Regions from separate parts of the Homo sapiens genome. Here all the other regions are linked to region 1. The links are contacts of gene promoters, found by promoter capture Hi-C in blood cells and fetal thymus (Javierre and others, 2016). All regions are on one chromosome and are shown on one strand. The core of a region is centred on a gene start or on the middle of the fragment in contact, and the rest is flanking DNA. Distances in the headings are between cores, read along the strand shown.

What was found. Contacts are between HindIII fragments. The CHiCAGO score rates a contact against its expected background, and 5 or more counts as called.
Region 2: a fragment that was not itself captured here is called in contact with the fragment with the promoter of LSM7 in region 1 in 2 of 17 cell types (total B cells and M2 macrophages); the score reaches 6.1 in total B cells.
Region 3: a fragment that was not itself captured here is called in contact with the fragment with the promoter of LSM7 in region 1 in 1 of 17 cell types (neutrophils); the score reaches 5.2 in neutrophils.
Region 4: a fragment that was not itself captured here is called in contact with the fragment with the promoter of LSM7 in region 1 in 2 of 17 cell types (neutrophils and monocytes); the score reaches 5.7 in neutrophils.
Region 5: a contact is called between the fragment with the promoter of ABHD17A here and the fragment with the promoter of LSM7 in region 1, in 4 of 17 cell types (neutrophils, activated CD4 T cells, monocytes and 1 more). The highest score is 12.1, in neutrophils.

Annotation. Positions count from the first base shown.
Region 1 is chr19:2,327,148-2,329,847 of GRCh38, forward strand. LSM7 (LSM7 homolog, U6 small nuclear RNA and mRNA degradation associated) reads right to left here and starts at 1,439. Exons shown (of 4, transcript NM_016199.3): 1 at 1,414-1,439; 2 at 1,240-1,330. The coding sequence starts at 1,419. SPPL2B (signal peptide peptidase like 2B) reads left to right here and starts at 1,537. Exons shown (of 15, transcript NM_152988.3): 1 at 1,537-1,628. The coding sequence starts at 1,563. RefSeq lists silencers at 444-543, 1,564-1,823 and enhancers at 814-873, 1,154-1,808, 1,244-1,293, 1,304-1,353. The HindIII fragment of the contact is 4,029 bases long and covers 1-2,700 here.
Region 2 is chr19:2,595,412-2,598,111 of GRCh38, forward strand. All of the region lies in intron 2 of GNG7 (G protein subunit gamma 7), which reads right to left. Among named protein-coding and RNA genes, the nearest start is that of MIR7850, 34 kb to the right of the region's middle. The HindIII fragment of the contact is 4,165 bases long and covers 1-2,700 here.
Region 3 is chr19:1,931,510-1,934,209 of GRCh38, forward strand. No RefSeq gene overlaps it. Among named protein-coding and RNA genes, the nearest start is that of CSNK1G2, 8.3 kb to the right of the region's middle. The HindIII fragment of the contact is 7,321 bases long and covers 1-2,700 here.
Region 4 is chr19:1,984,415-1,987,114 of GRCh38, forward strand. It overlaps BTBD2 (BTB domain containing 2), which reads right to left. Exons shown (of 9, transcript NM_017797.4): 8 at 2,416-2,562; 9 at 1,034-2,235. The coding sequence ends at 2,074. Among named protein-coding and RNA genes, the nearest start is that of BTBD2, 30 kb to the right of the region's middle. The HindIII fragment of the contact is 8,980 bases long and covers 1-2,700 here.
Region 5 is chr19:1,884,124-1,886,823 of GRCh38, forward strand. It overlaps ABHD17A (abhydrolase domain containing 17A, depalmitoylase), which reads right to left and starts at 1,373. Exons shown (of 5, transcript NM_001130111.2): 1 at 1,229-1,373. RefSeq lists a silencer at 638-785. The HindIII fragment of the contact is 20,961 bases long and covers 1-2,700 here.

The DNA.
Region 1 (2,700 bases), core at 189-2,688:
GAAGGGCAGAAAACAAAGGGAAGCAGTGTGACCAGCAAGAGCGGCCGCTCACTCATGTCCTTCCATGTCCGGAGTCAGCATGGTGTAGACTGAGAAAACATTTTATTCATATTCCTTTTTCTTTTTGTTTTGAGACGGAGTCTTGCCCTATCGCCAGGCTGGAGTGCGGTGGCACAATCTCGCCTCTGGGGTTCAAGCAATTCTCCTGCCTCAGCCCCCCGAGTAGCTGGGACTACAAGCGTGCGCCACCATGCCCAGCTAACTTTTTGTATTTTAGTAGAGACAGGGTTTCACCACGTAGGCCAGGATGGTCTTGATCTCCTGACCTCCTGATCTGCCTGCCTCGGCCTCCCAAAGTGTCAAGATTAAAGGCATGAGCCACTGTGCCTGGCCTCCTTTTTCTCTTTTGAGACTGGGCCTTGCTCTGTGGCCCAGGCTGGAGTGCAGTGGTGCGGTCATAGCTCACTGCAGCCTCAAACCCTAGGGTGAAGCCACCCTCCTGCTTCAGACTCCCAAATTGCTGGGATTACACACGTGAGCCGCCCCGTCCGGCTGGGGCACTGTGATTTTTAATAACTCTCATGCCACCCAGTTGTCTACAATCCAGGGACAAAGAGGTTTGGGTCCCCGTCTTACAAAAAAAAGAAACCAAAGATCCAAGAGGCTATTGAATAAGTGACGTGTTGTCTGACTGCTTACTTCCTGCTGAGAGCTGCCTCAATTACATTACATGCCTGTAACCATTCATTCTCACCACCCCCTGTGAAGTGGGTGGAGTTACCAGCCCCATTTGACAAATGAGGAAACGGAGGCTAGGAGAAGGCAGCTCACTTGCCCAGTCAAAAATGCTAGGCTGGGCATGGTGGCTCATGCCTGAAATCCCAGCAATTTAGGGGGCTGAGGCAGGCAGATCGCTTGAGGCCAGGAGTTTGAGACCATCCTGGCCAACATGGCCTCTCTACTAAAAATACAAATATTAGCCGGGCGTGGTGGTACACATTAATTCCAGCTACTCGGGAGGCTGAGGCACAAGAATCACTTGAACCTGGGAGGCGGAGGTTGCAGTGAGCTGAGATCGCACCACTGCACTCCAGCCCGGGTGACAGAGCGAGACTGCGTCTCAAAAAAAATAATGAAAATAAATAAAAGAGGTGCTTCCGCATGCGTCCTCATCATCTCTGTTGCTGGGTTTATTTGAAATTTTTAAAGAGGGGGTACCGACAGCGGGAGCCTCCTCACCTTCGCGGCCTCCCTGGAACTTTACCCGGATCGTCTTGTCGATGTACTTGGACAAGTCCAAGATGCTCTCCTTTTTCTTCTTCTCCTTATCCTGCGGGGAAAGCAGAGCGCATGAGACCTGGAGCGCGGCCCGAGCTCCACGCCCCCCGGCTCCAGATTCCGCCGCGCGCTCACCGCCATCTTGTCGCGCCGTGTGGCTCTTCGCAGGCACCGCCCCGCGCCCTTTGACCTCCCCCACGCGCATGCGCGGCGCATGCGTGGCCCGGGGTCTCGGGGCGTTGCTGGGAAACATCTGCCGTTGGTTGCGGCGGGCACCGGCCGACATGGCGGCAGCGGTGGCGGCTGCGCTGGCGCGGCTTTTGGCGGCCTTTCTGCTCCTCGCGGCCCAGGTGAGCGCGGCACCGGTCCCGACGGCACCGCGGGCTGCGGCCCTTCGGCCTCTCTGTCCCCGGGCTACGCGCAGGAACGACCCCGCTCGGCCCGTCTTGGGGGTCCAGCCTCGGGGATCCGCCGTCCCCGCGTTGTCGGCCGGCGGTGCCGGGGCTCGGCCGTGACCTTGCGGGTCTGTCCCCGGCTCCTCTCCTTTCCCCGCCTCGGAGGCCCTCCGCCGCTGCAGCGCCACTCACTTCCCACCGGGTCTGAAATTTGTGCCCCCTCCATCCTCCGGTTCTGCTTCTCCGTTTCGGGGTCTCCAGTTGCCGCCGGGGACGCCTCTCTCCGGCTCTGTGGCCTTGAGCAGGCGGCTGCCCACCCCTCTCCGAGCCTCAGTTTCCCCTTAGGCGGAACGGGCACGGTGCTAAGCTAACCTCACCCTAGGGGGTGCGGTGGGGGAACCCAGAGGCGTCCCGCGCGTCCCCCAGTAACTGGCAGCATCCTGGAGCGGCCAGGAGTCCAGCCCTGCACTGGGGTCGGATCCCCGCTCCATCTTTTACTCCGTGACCTTGGACGATGGAATTCGTGTGCAGAAGGAGGACCGACTATGGTGTGGATTCTGGAGGTTCTGTCCAGGGTGACCAGCGCCCAGGGCCAACAGGCCTTCATTATGTTCATTGTGTGTCATTTGATGTAAAGAGTGTCAGGTTCTAGTGGGGACAGTCTACGAGATCGCACTGTCATAACTGCATCTTTTATTTTCTTAATTCCAAATCTTCCCTCTCTCCTGAGTTCGGTGGCTCAGGCAATGGAACCTGGAGCAGCCCCACAAATGCAGCCCTTAACCTTCACTACCCCCTCAGAGTTCTCACTCTTAAGGCGTCGCCGCCACCTGGCTCCTCAGTCTCCACTCCTCCAGCCCCACCGCTATCCCTCTGCTGTGGCTGCCTTTGTCCACCACATCCCCAGTCCATCCTCGACACAGCAGGGGTGACCCTTTCAAAGTATGTCAGACCGTGTCGCATCCAGATGAGTGCGCCGTCCAGTTGTGACCTGGCTGCTGGGGAAGCCTGCAGCTCATTGCAGTCG
Region 2 (2,700 bases), core at 109-2,608, 270 kb after region 1:
GTGAGCCACCATGCCCGGCTGAAAGGAAATTAAATTTAAGGGCCGAGTGCAGTGGCTCATGCCTGTAATCCCAGCACTTTGGGAGGCCGAGGCGGGTGGATTGCCTGAGCTCAGGAGTTTGAGACCAGCCTGGGCAACATAGCAAAACTCCGTCTCTAGTAAAAATACAAAAAATTAGCCGGGCGTGGTGGCGGGTGCCTGTAATCCCAGCTACTCGGGAGGCTGAGGCAGGAGAATGGCGTGAACCCGGGAGGCGGAGCTTGCAGCGAGCCAAGATCGCACCACTGCACTCCAGCCTGGGCAACAGAGTGAGACTCTGTCTCAAAAAAAAAAAAAAAGAAATTAAATTTAAAAAGGTAAAAAGCAGCTCAGGACCGCCAATGTACAATGCACTCCATATGGCTGTACGTATCTATGTGAGTGTGCATGTGTAGGAAAAGTCTAGGGAGTTTCAGTGGTTAGACGACAATGACCAGGACAACTGTGTGAGCAGCACCTGTGTGGCACTGAGTCATCTCAGGCTCTCCACTCGGCTCTGTCCATCAACGACCGAATCCAGCTCTCACGGCGACTCTACGCTGCATGCTTGTTACTCTACTACAGAGGAGGAAGCAACGCTTACGAAAACCAAGGACCAGAAGAACTCACAATCAAAACTAGTGGGCGGCCGGGCGCGGTGGCTCATATCTGTAATCTCAGCACTTTGAGAGGCCGAGGCGGGCGGATCACCTGAGGTCAGGAGTTTGGGACCAGCATGGCCAACATGGTGAAACCCCATCTCTACTGAAAATACAAAAATTAGCCGGGTGCGGTGGTGCATGCCTGTAATCCCAGCTACTTGGGAGGCTGAGACAGGAGAATCGCTTGAACCCAGGAGGTGGAGGTTGCAGTGAGCTGAGATCGTGCCTCTGCACTGCAGCCTGGGCGACAGAGTGAGAGTCGGTCCCTAAAATTAAAATAAAAAATAGTAGGCAGGCCCAGCGCGGGGCTCACACCTGCAATCCCAGCACTTTGAAAGGCTGAGGCAGGAAAATCACTTGAGCCCAGGAGTTTCAGACCAGCCTGGGTAACATAGTGAGACCCCGTCTCAATTAAAATTAAAAAAAAATTAAGCAGGTGTAGTGATATCCACCTGTGGTCCCAGCTACTCAGGAGGTTGAGGTGGGAGGATCGCTTGAGTCCAAGAGGTTGAGGCTGTAGTGAGCCATGATTATGCCACTGCACTCCAGCCTGGGTGACAAAGTGAGACCCTGTCCCCCCCCCAAAAAAAAAAGTGGGCAAATATCGACCCAGTTGTTCTCCTTTCACGTTCTGCACTGATGATCAGTTCCCATCCACCCCACACTGTTAACAGTGGTTAATTCTGGGGAGTGAGATTTGTGATGAAGATGTCTCCATTCTCACTCCTGCAGTACGAGACTTCTTTACAAATATATTCTCAACAGGGTGAACATCAATTCTTGGGGAGATGAAAACAAATTTTACTTTTTTTATGGATTAAGCCCAGAAAACAGAACATAAACAGATACACAGTCTATCTATGATATTGAAATTTCACAGGTATAGGCTGGGCTCGGTGGCTCACACCTGCAATCCCAGCACTTTTGGAGGCTGAGGTGGGAAGATCACTTGAGGCCAGGAGTTCAAGATCATCCTGGACAACATAGCAAGACCCAATCTCTAGAAAGAATAAAAATTTAAAAATTATCCAGGCATGGTGGTGTGCACCTGTTATCCCAGCTTTGGTGACTGAGGCGGGAGGATTGCTTGAGCCTGGGAGTTGGAAGCTGCTGCAGGGAGCTGAGATGGCGTTACTGCACTCCAGCTTGAGTGACAGAGAAAGAAGATCCTGTCTCTAAGATAAAAACAAACAAAAACTCCATTATATAATAATGCTACTTGGGGCCAGTCACAGTGGCTCACGCCTGTAATCCTAACACTGTGGGAGGCCGAGGCAGGCGGATCACCTAAGGTCAGGAGTTTGAGACCAGCCTGGCCAACATGGTGAAACCCCGTGTCTACTAAAAATACAAAAATTAGCTGGGCGTGGTGGCGGGCACCTGTAATCTTAGCTACTCAGGAGGCTGAGGCAGGAGAATCGCTTGAACCCAGGAGGTGGAGGTTGCAGTGAGCCGAGATCACGCCACTGCACTCCAGCCTGGGTGACAAGAGCAAAACTCCTTCTCAAAAATAATAATAATAAGGCCGAGTGTGGTGGCTCACACCTGTAATCCCAGCACTTTGGGAGGCCGAGGTGGGTGGATCACGAGGTCAGCAGATCGAGACCATCCTGGCTAACACGGTGAAACCCCGTCTCTACTAAAAATACAAAAAATTAGCCAGGCGTGGTGGCGGGCGCCTGTAGTGCCAGCTACTCGGGAGGCTGAGGCAGGAGAATGGCGTGAACCCAGGAGGCAGAGCTTGCAGTGAGCCGAGATTGCGCCACTGCACTCCAGCCTGGGCAACAGAGTGAGACTCTGTTTCAAAAAAAAAAAAAAAAAAGAAATTAAATTTAGAAAGGTAAAAAGCAGCTCAGGACTGCCAATGTACAATGCGCTCCATATTGCTGTACGTATCTATGTGAGTGTGCATGTGTAGGAAAAGTCTAGGGAGTTTCAGTGGTTAGACGACAATGACCAGGACAACTGTGTGAGCAGCACCTGTGTGGCACTGAGTCATCTCAGGCTCTCCACTCGGCTC
Region 3 (2,700 bases), core at 6-2,505, 400 kb before region 1:
CTTTTTTATTAAAAAAAATAATAATTTGTTTTTGCTTAATTTATTTCACCAGTCATATCACAAAGACATGTGTTGTTTTAGGCCACTGAGTTTGGTATAATTTGTTATGCAGCAGTAGCTGACTGATACAATAGGTGTTCCTGGATTATCTTCAGAAACCTGATAATAATATGTACACTAACTAGGGCTGTATCAGGGTGCATGGCAGGGTTTTTGAAGGCATTTTAAAGAGGTTTAGTTCCTGTCCTCAGGAGCTGCTGCCTAGTGGGGCAGACAGACCATGAATATCCATCATGGAAGGCAGAACACATAAGTACATGGACGAAAGCAGTTCCAGAGGCTGGTGGGTTGGATTCATTTGGCCTGATGTATCATGGAGTCCTCCCAAAAGAGGTGATCATCTGCCTGAGCTTTGCCAGACCTGTTGGGCTGAGAGAAGCCAGACAAGGCTCAGATGGGTGGAGGGTCAGGGTGGGTTGGAAAGGAACAAGTCAGTATGGGTGCAGAGGGCGTCCTGATGGATAGATGGGGCTGCGAAGTGGAACCAGCCATTGAGGCAGCCTCGAATGCTGTCCCCATTGTGGGGACTTTGAAAAGCCACCCTCCTTTGAAACACAGAAGGGGCAAGGAGTAAATTTATATTTCTTTTTTTCTTTTTTTTTGTTTTGAGACGGAGTCTCACTCTGTCACCCAGGCTGGAGTGCAGCGGCACCATCTTGGCTCACTGCAAGCTCTGCCTCCTGGGTTCACGCCATTCTCCTGCCTCAGCCTCCCAAGTACCTGAGACTACTGGCGCCCGCCACCATGCCTGGCTAATTTTTTGTATTTTTAGTAGAGACGGGGTTTCACCATGTTAGCCAGGATGGCCTCGATCTCCTGACCTCGTGATCTGCCTGCCTCAGCCTCCCAAAGTGCTGAGATTACAGGCATGAGCCACCGCGCCCGGCCAATTTATATTTCTGGTAAGGGGTGGGAAGAAGGAGCTTTCTCAGGCTGGAGGGGAGAGAAGACAGATGAGCACAGACACTCCTGGCAGCGGCATGAGGGCCGGGGAGCAGGTGCAGGGCACAGCGGGGCTCTGCAGGGCGGTTGTAGTTGGTGAGGACCACTGGAGCAGGGCCTTGAAGGGCGTCACCCCTCACCTGGCTGCCTCTGGGCCATCCTCCAGTCTGCCAGGGACTAGCAGAGGGGAGAAAGTGGGAGAGGAATCATTATTTGATGACCTCATTCAGCCCTAGGGATTTGGGGTGGCTAAGGTAGAATGGCAGTGGATTATATCTGACATGATGCGGGGTGTCCGGGCTCAGCTGGGCAGTTCTGCTCCCTGTGGTGATGGGGGGTAATCAGCAATCATTTAGTGGCTTTCCCTGGCCGGGAATGTTTGAGGTAGCTCACTCACAGGGCTGGCAGGTGGTGCCTGCTCAGTGGTGCCATCACCCAGGGGCTTCCAGGTGGCTGCCTCACAAGATGGCAGCTGGGTTCCAAGCAGAAAGGACGCTGTTGAGTTCTTTTTTTTTTTTTTTTTTTTTTGAGACACAGTCTCACTCTGTCACCCAGGCTGGAGTGTAATGGCGCAGTCTCGGCTCACTGCAACCTCCACCTCCCAGGTTCAAGTGATTCTACTGCCTCAGCTTCCCGAGTAGCTGGGATTACAGGTGCCCACCACCACGCCCAGCTAATTTTGTATTTTTAGTAGAGACAGGGTTTCACCGTGCTGGCTAGGCTGGTCTCAAACTCCTGACCTCGGGTGATCTGCCCGCCTCGGCCTCCCCAAGTGCTGGGATGACAGGTGTAAGCACCATGCCCAGCCTACTGTCGAGCTCGTAAGACCCTCCCTCAGAAGTCTCAAGGCACCACTTCCCCTGCCTTCTGTTGCTAAAACAGGTCACAGGAGCAGCTACATTCAGGGGAGGGGAAATGAACTGTGTCTTTCCGTGGGAGGAGCAGCAAAGAATCTGTGACCATCACACCCAGCTTTTGAACCACTTCTTCTTTGTGTCTCAGTGTTTGTGGCATGCAGCATCCCTGTTGCCTGGGTCCAGGATGCCACCCTCCTACTGGGGTTGCAGCACCAAGGGGCTGGGCATTCCATCGAGCTGAGGGGTGGGGGCTCTGGATGGGAGGCTCCCTGGGGGGAGCTCACATCTTCCATGAAGCATCATGGTCATTGTTGCCCTGTCCTGCACCCTGTCCACTGCAGGCTGCCCTCTGTGGCTGGCCTTGGTGACAAGAGATGTGGGAGAGACCCTGGTCACCACCATGGGAGGAGTCCCCAGGCACCAGGGGCAAATGAACAGAGTGAATGCCAGGAGGACCATTTAGGTGCAATATGACCAAAAATAAGTTAAGTCCAAGTGGGCTGCATCATCAACAAGAACATCCCCCAGCCTCCATGAAACAGCCCAAAACCTGGAGCAAGACGGTTCCCTGACGCTGAGCGATGCCATTCACAGCAGCGTTCCTGAATACCCCCCATGCAGGCACTCACATGCTCACACACACAATACACAAACCAACACACACCACACACAGGCATGCCAAACACAGGCACACAAATGCACACCCCCCCATAGACCCACCGACGAACACACACACACACACCCAGATGCACAGGTGCGCACACACACCCACGCACACAAAGACCCAGAGACAGACATGTGCACACACATACATATGCACACATGTACGCAGATACATATG
Region 4 (2,700 bases), core at 201-2,700, 340 kb before region 1:
GGTGGGTGGCCCTTCTGGTGTCTTCATTAGAAGCCCAAGGTGTTTCCTTTTAATATGTATTTTTTTAGAGATGGGGTCTTGCTGTGTTGCCCAGGCTGGTCTCAAACTCCTGGCCCCTAGCAGTTCTGCCTCAGCCTGCCAAAGTGCTGGGATTGCAGGTGTGAGCCAGCACGCCCGGCCCCCAGGGTGTTCGACAAGGCCCCCTACCCCGCCAGCCTCCATCTCCATTGCCTGCTCCCAGCACTGCGCACTGTGGAGATCTGCTCAGCCTTCAGCCTCCTGGCAACTGTTTGCGGCTGGCTTTTTTTTTTTTAGACGGAGTCTTGCTTTCTCGCCCAGGCTGGAGTGCAATGGCACCATCTTGGCTCACTGCAACCTCCATCTCCCAGGTTCAAGCGATTCGCCTGCCTCAGCCTCCCAAGTAGCTGGGATTACAGGTGCCTGCCACCATACCTGGCTAATTTTTGTGTTTTTAGTAGAGATGGGGTTTCACCATGTCGGCCAGGTTGGTCCTGAACTCCTGACCTCAGGTGATCCACCCGCCCGGCCTCCCAAGGTGCTGTAATGACGTGTGAGCCACCACGCGGCCTTGCTGCCGGGTTTCTTGATGTCTTGCCCTGCACGTGTGCTCCTGAGGCAGCAGCCAACGGCTTGACTTCTCTGGCCACTGAGGCCACAACTGGGCACTCCCTGCTTTCTCTCCATCTCTCACATCCACGGTCCCCCAGCAGCCAGCAGGGCCTCCCCACGGGGAAATCGGCACACACGTCCATTGCATTTGGGTTTGGGGGGAGGTGTTGAGTTAGTTAGGGTCTTGCTCTTGCCCAGGGGGGAGGGCAGTGGTGCATCACTGCTCACTGCAGTCTCGACCTCCCGGGCTTCAGTGTGGCCTGTGGGTACTTAAGGAGGGTCTCGCAGCACTGGCGACCAGACCCGGGGTTCAGGGCCCCTCTCGGCGCACGACATCCCTCGCCCACTGCAGCCCGGATGACAGGGCAGAGAGTGAAGGGGAGCAAAGCAGTGTGCGCTCAAGGCAGGTGCATTTGTTTCTTTATTTAAAAAAATCATCTGGGGGCATGGTCTGAGGAGGACACCCCTCCCATGGCTTTGGGGAGGACGCAGGTTCCAGGAGTCACAGGGCAGAAACACGCGGGGTGGGTGGGGGCGTGGCCGGAGTGGGGAGGGGCTGTGCCCCCAGCACCTGGGGGTGGCTCCCACGGCACCAGGTGGGCTAGGGCAACAGTATGTACAGGCGAGCAGTGCTCCTGGACCCGGTCGGGGCCGGCTGGGGCCCCATTCTGCGGCAGGGGAGCTCTGGGGCACAGGGTCTGAGTCCCATCTTGGGCTGCAGGGACCGCGAGGGCCGTCCAGGGAGGCTGGACAGCGGGGGCCTTTATCTGGGCCCATCAGGTGGATGAGAACGGACACTGCAAACCGCTCACCACCTGGGCCAGGGCTAGGCCTATCCGGCAGGGGCCGTCCCCACACTGAATCCTGCGTGCGCAGAACTCAAGCCGGCATCCAGGCAGTGGGAACGCCCCGCAGGCTGGGCTTGGGTGGCCTCGGGCACGTGACAGGTGGGGCCCGTGTCCTGATAAACGGACAGGAACAAAAGGAACGCAAGGTCTGGGACCCACGGCTCTGGGAGCAGCGCCACCCAGGCTGGCTCCTAGCAGAGAAATGGGAATCGCAAATGCATTGCAATGTGCAGTGAAGAGACGCGAGGGACGCCCGCGGCGCACCGCCGGCAGACGACGTGGGCAGGCGCCCTGAGCTGCGGGTCCGTGGGCCCTGGCCCAGGCCGGCACAGCCCTGTCCCTAGTCCTGAGGGATTGTCTCCACAGGGCCTGGCCACTGGCCTGGCCACCTCCCCGGCTGCCCTGATCCAGCAGCCACACTCGTGGTGAACACAGGGCAACCCCGTCCTGATGCTGAGAAAGGTGGCATGGAGTGGACAGACGGCCTGGGGGACACTGGGCCTGGCACCGCGTGGTGGGGGGGCCCCAGCAGCAGATGATGGCCTGGGGCTGCGGCTATCCCCACGGAGGGAGGGCGGTGTCGGTGTCGGGCAGCCTAGGTGTAGAAGATGACCTCGGGGATCTGGCCGTCCTCCACGGATGTGCCATTGTTGTTCCCGGCCGCGTAGCAAAAGGTGAAGCAGGTCTTGGCGCCCGTGGTGGGCGACTCGTGTGTCACCTTGCGCAGGCCTTTGGTGCCGTAGTGGGAGTCTGGGCCCTGTAGGGAATAGGGGTACAGTGAGGTCAAGGACCACCAGGCTGGGATGCCCCAGGTGTGGACAGGGCAAGGCCCCGACTGGGCCAGGGTGGCTGCCTCTGGAGAGTGTGTGCTGTGCCCCGGTGGCTTCAGGATGGGCCAGAGACTCCCACGGAGGGACCCCTGTCCCCGGCGGCGCACCTTGAGCGTGGCACAGGCCGTGTAGTTGACGTTGGGCAGCACCTCCACCGGCTCCTTGAACATGACGCGGAAGGTGCTGGCTGAGCCGTCGCAGCTGAAGCCCGTGTCGTTCTGGCCCAAGACGGTGTTGCTATCGGTGTGAATAATCTGCGGGGAGGTGGGAAGTGGGAGGCTCAGGCCTGGGGAGGGCCAACGGGGACCCCTCGAGGCCCAGCCCACCTGCCCAGGGTGGGGGCAGCACAGGGACCAGGGCCGGGGGTTCAGCCAGGGTTCCATGGAGGTGGA
Region 5 (2,700 bases), core at 123-2,622, 440 kb before region 1:
TCCACAGCTTGTATTTTTCACACGTTTGGCCAGATCTCCCCCCACCTCCAAACCAGAAACTCTATGAGAGCAGGACCATGACCTGCCACTCACTAAAGGAATGGGCAGGTGGTAGGCAGCACAGAATTAAGGAGGAAGCACAGGAGGAAAAGAATCCCCAAGGTCCGCCAGCTTTGACAGGGAAGGGAAAGTCTAGTCTCCTCTCCTCTCCAGCCACAGGTACCTGGAACCTCCCTAGTGTCACTAATGGGCGTGGACTGGGGAGTGCAAACCCAGACGCCTCACTCACTGGGCACACACCCTTGACACCCTGAATCCCACCAATTCCGTTCCCACGCACTTAACTGGGCAACCCTCTGCAAGCTAGAGGTGTTCTGAGGACCAGCAAGCAACCGAGCAGCCAAAATACTGGAAGATGACCTACATATGGGAGACGGTGACTGCACCTCACTCAACCAGTCAGGGTGGGAAACCCGCCTGGGGGGAGGCGCGGCCATATCAGAGGGCAGACAAACGGGCCAGGTGACAGGGGGATGGGACAGAGGGACAAGCAGGAGCAAAATCCGAGGTGACAGAGCAGGCTCCTGGCTAGAGCAGACCCTGGGAGGAAGAAGTGAGCAGAAGGGTCCTAAGAGAGAGCCTGGGACGGGTGAGGTCGCGCCCCCGAGAGTTTGCACTTCATCCTGGGAGAAATGGCGGGGCCGCGAAGAAGTCCCGAGCAAGCGATGGACAACATAGGAGAAGGGCTGCATCCCGGAGAACGGACGCGAGCGGAGGCCGGGAAGCCCGCCCAGGAGTCAGGGTGGCAGGAAGAAGCCTGACAAGGGAAACAGCGACTGGGAGCTGGTTGGGAAGCAGGGCTCGGGAGGGCCCCTGGGAGCTGCCTTGGGGGGCGAGAGGCCGAAGCGTTTGTCGGACTGGGGGCAGTTTCGGGGCAAAAGAGCGGAATCCGCGGCTCGGACGGGTGCTCCCCGAAGGCAAGGGCCGCGTCCGCAGGAGGGTGGGAGCGCAACCCACGCCGGAGGGCTGAATGGATGGGGACAGGGCTTTCCCAATCACAGACGCTCATCCGCGGTCCGCGCCCCTGCTCTGGGCTCCTCGGGCAGGACCCGCGGAAGCCCTGGGACTGCAGGGGTCTCGGGGACGTCCAACCGGGCTGTCAGGCCCTCGAGGCCCGGCCCGGGACCCCGCGCGGCCGCGCCCGCCCCCGCCCCTGCCCGGCACTCACCACCCCGGCCCGCGCCCCCGGGCCCCAGGGCCGCGCTCCATGGCTCCCGGCCGCCCGCCCGTGCGTCCGTCGGTCCCTCCGCACCCCTGCCCGGCCTCCTGCACCGCCACCGCCGCAGCTCCCCCCACGGACGGAAGTGAGCCTCGTTCTCACCACCGCCCCGGAAGTGACGCGAGGAGCGCGCGGGGCGGGGGTCTGCAGGCACAGAGCGACCGCGCGACTAGCGTCCTGGGGGCGGGGCTGATATGTCGAGGGGCGTGGCCTGCTGCTCTGTGGGCGGGGCCAAACTTAGGTTTCATTCACTTGGGGACCCGGAATAGGTTGAGGCCAGTAAAGTTCTCGCCTGGAAAACAAAATTTACAGGGACGCCAAAAAAAACTCAGACATCAACATTTAGAAATGTTTTAAAATATTTTTCTTTATGAGATGGAGTCGCGCTCTGTCGCCCAGGCTGGAGTACAATGGCGCGATCTCAGCTCACTGCAACTTCTGCCTCCTGGGATCAAGCGATTCTCCTGCCTCAGCCTCCTGAGTAGCTGGGATTACCGGCGCCCACCACCATGCCCAGCTAATTTTTGTGTTTTCAGTAGAGACGGGGTTTCCCCATGTTGGCCAGTGTGGCCTCGAACTCCTGACCCCAGAATCCTCCTGCCTCAGCCTCCCAAAGTGTTGGGATTACAGGCATCAGCCACCGCACCTGGCCTCTTTTTTTTAACATAGAGTCTACTCTGTCACCCAGGCTGGTGCCATCATAGCTCACTGCAGCCTCGACCTCCCAGGATCAAGTGAACCTCCTACTTCAGCCTCCTGAGTAGCTAGGACTATAGGCACAAGCCACCATGACCAGCTTATTTAAAGTCTTTATATATTGCTCATCAGAAATTCTTTTGCATTAGTTTTTAAAATATTACATTAGGCCGGGCACGGTGGCTCATGCCTGTAATCCCAGCACTTTGGGAGACTGAAACAGGTAGATCACCTGAAGTCAGGAGTTTGAGACCAAGCCTGACCAACGTGGTGAAACCCTGTCTCTACTAAAAATACAAATATTAGCCGGGCATGGTGGCACGCGCCTGTAGTCCCAGCTACTCCGGAGGCTGAGGCAGGAGAATCGCTTGAACCCGGGAGGCGAAGGTTGCAGTGAGCCAAGATCGGGCCACTGTGCTCCAGCCCAAGTGACAGAGCAAGAAGACTGTCTCAGATAAATAAATAAATAAATAAATAAATAAATAAATAAATAAATAAAACTATGATCACTCCACTGCATTCCAGCCTGGGCGAGAGAGCAAGATCCTGTCTCTTAAAAAAATTTCATTATGGGCTGGGCGCGGTGGCTCACGCCTATAATCCCAGCACTTTGGGAGGCCGAGTCGGGCAGATCATGAGGTTAGGAGATCAAGACCATCCTGGCTAACACGGTGAAACCTCATCTCTACTAAAAATACAAAAAGATAGCCGGGCGTGGTGGCGGG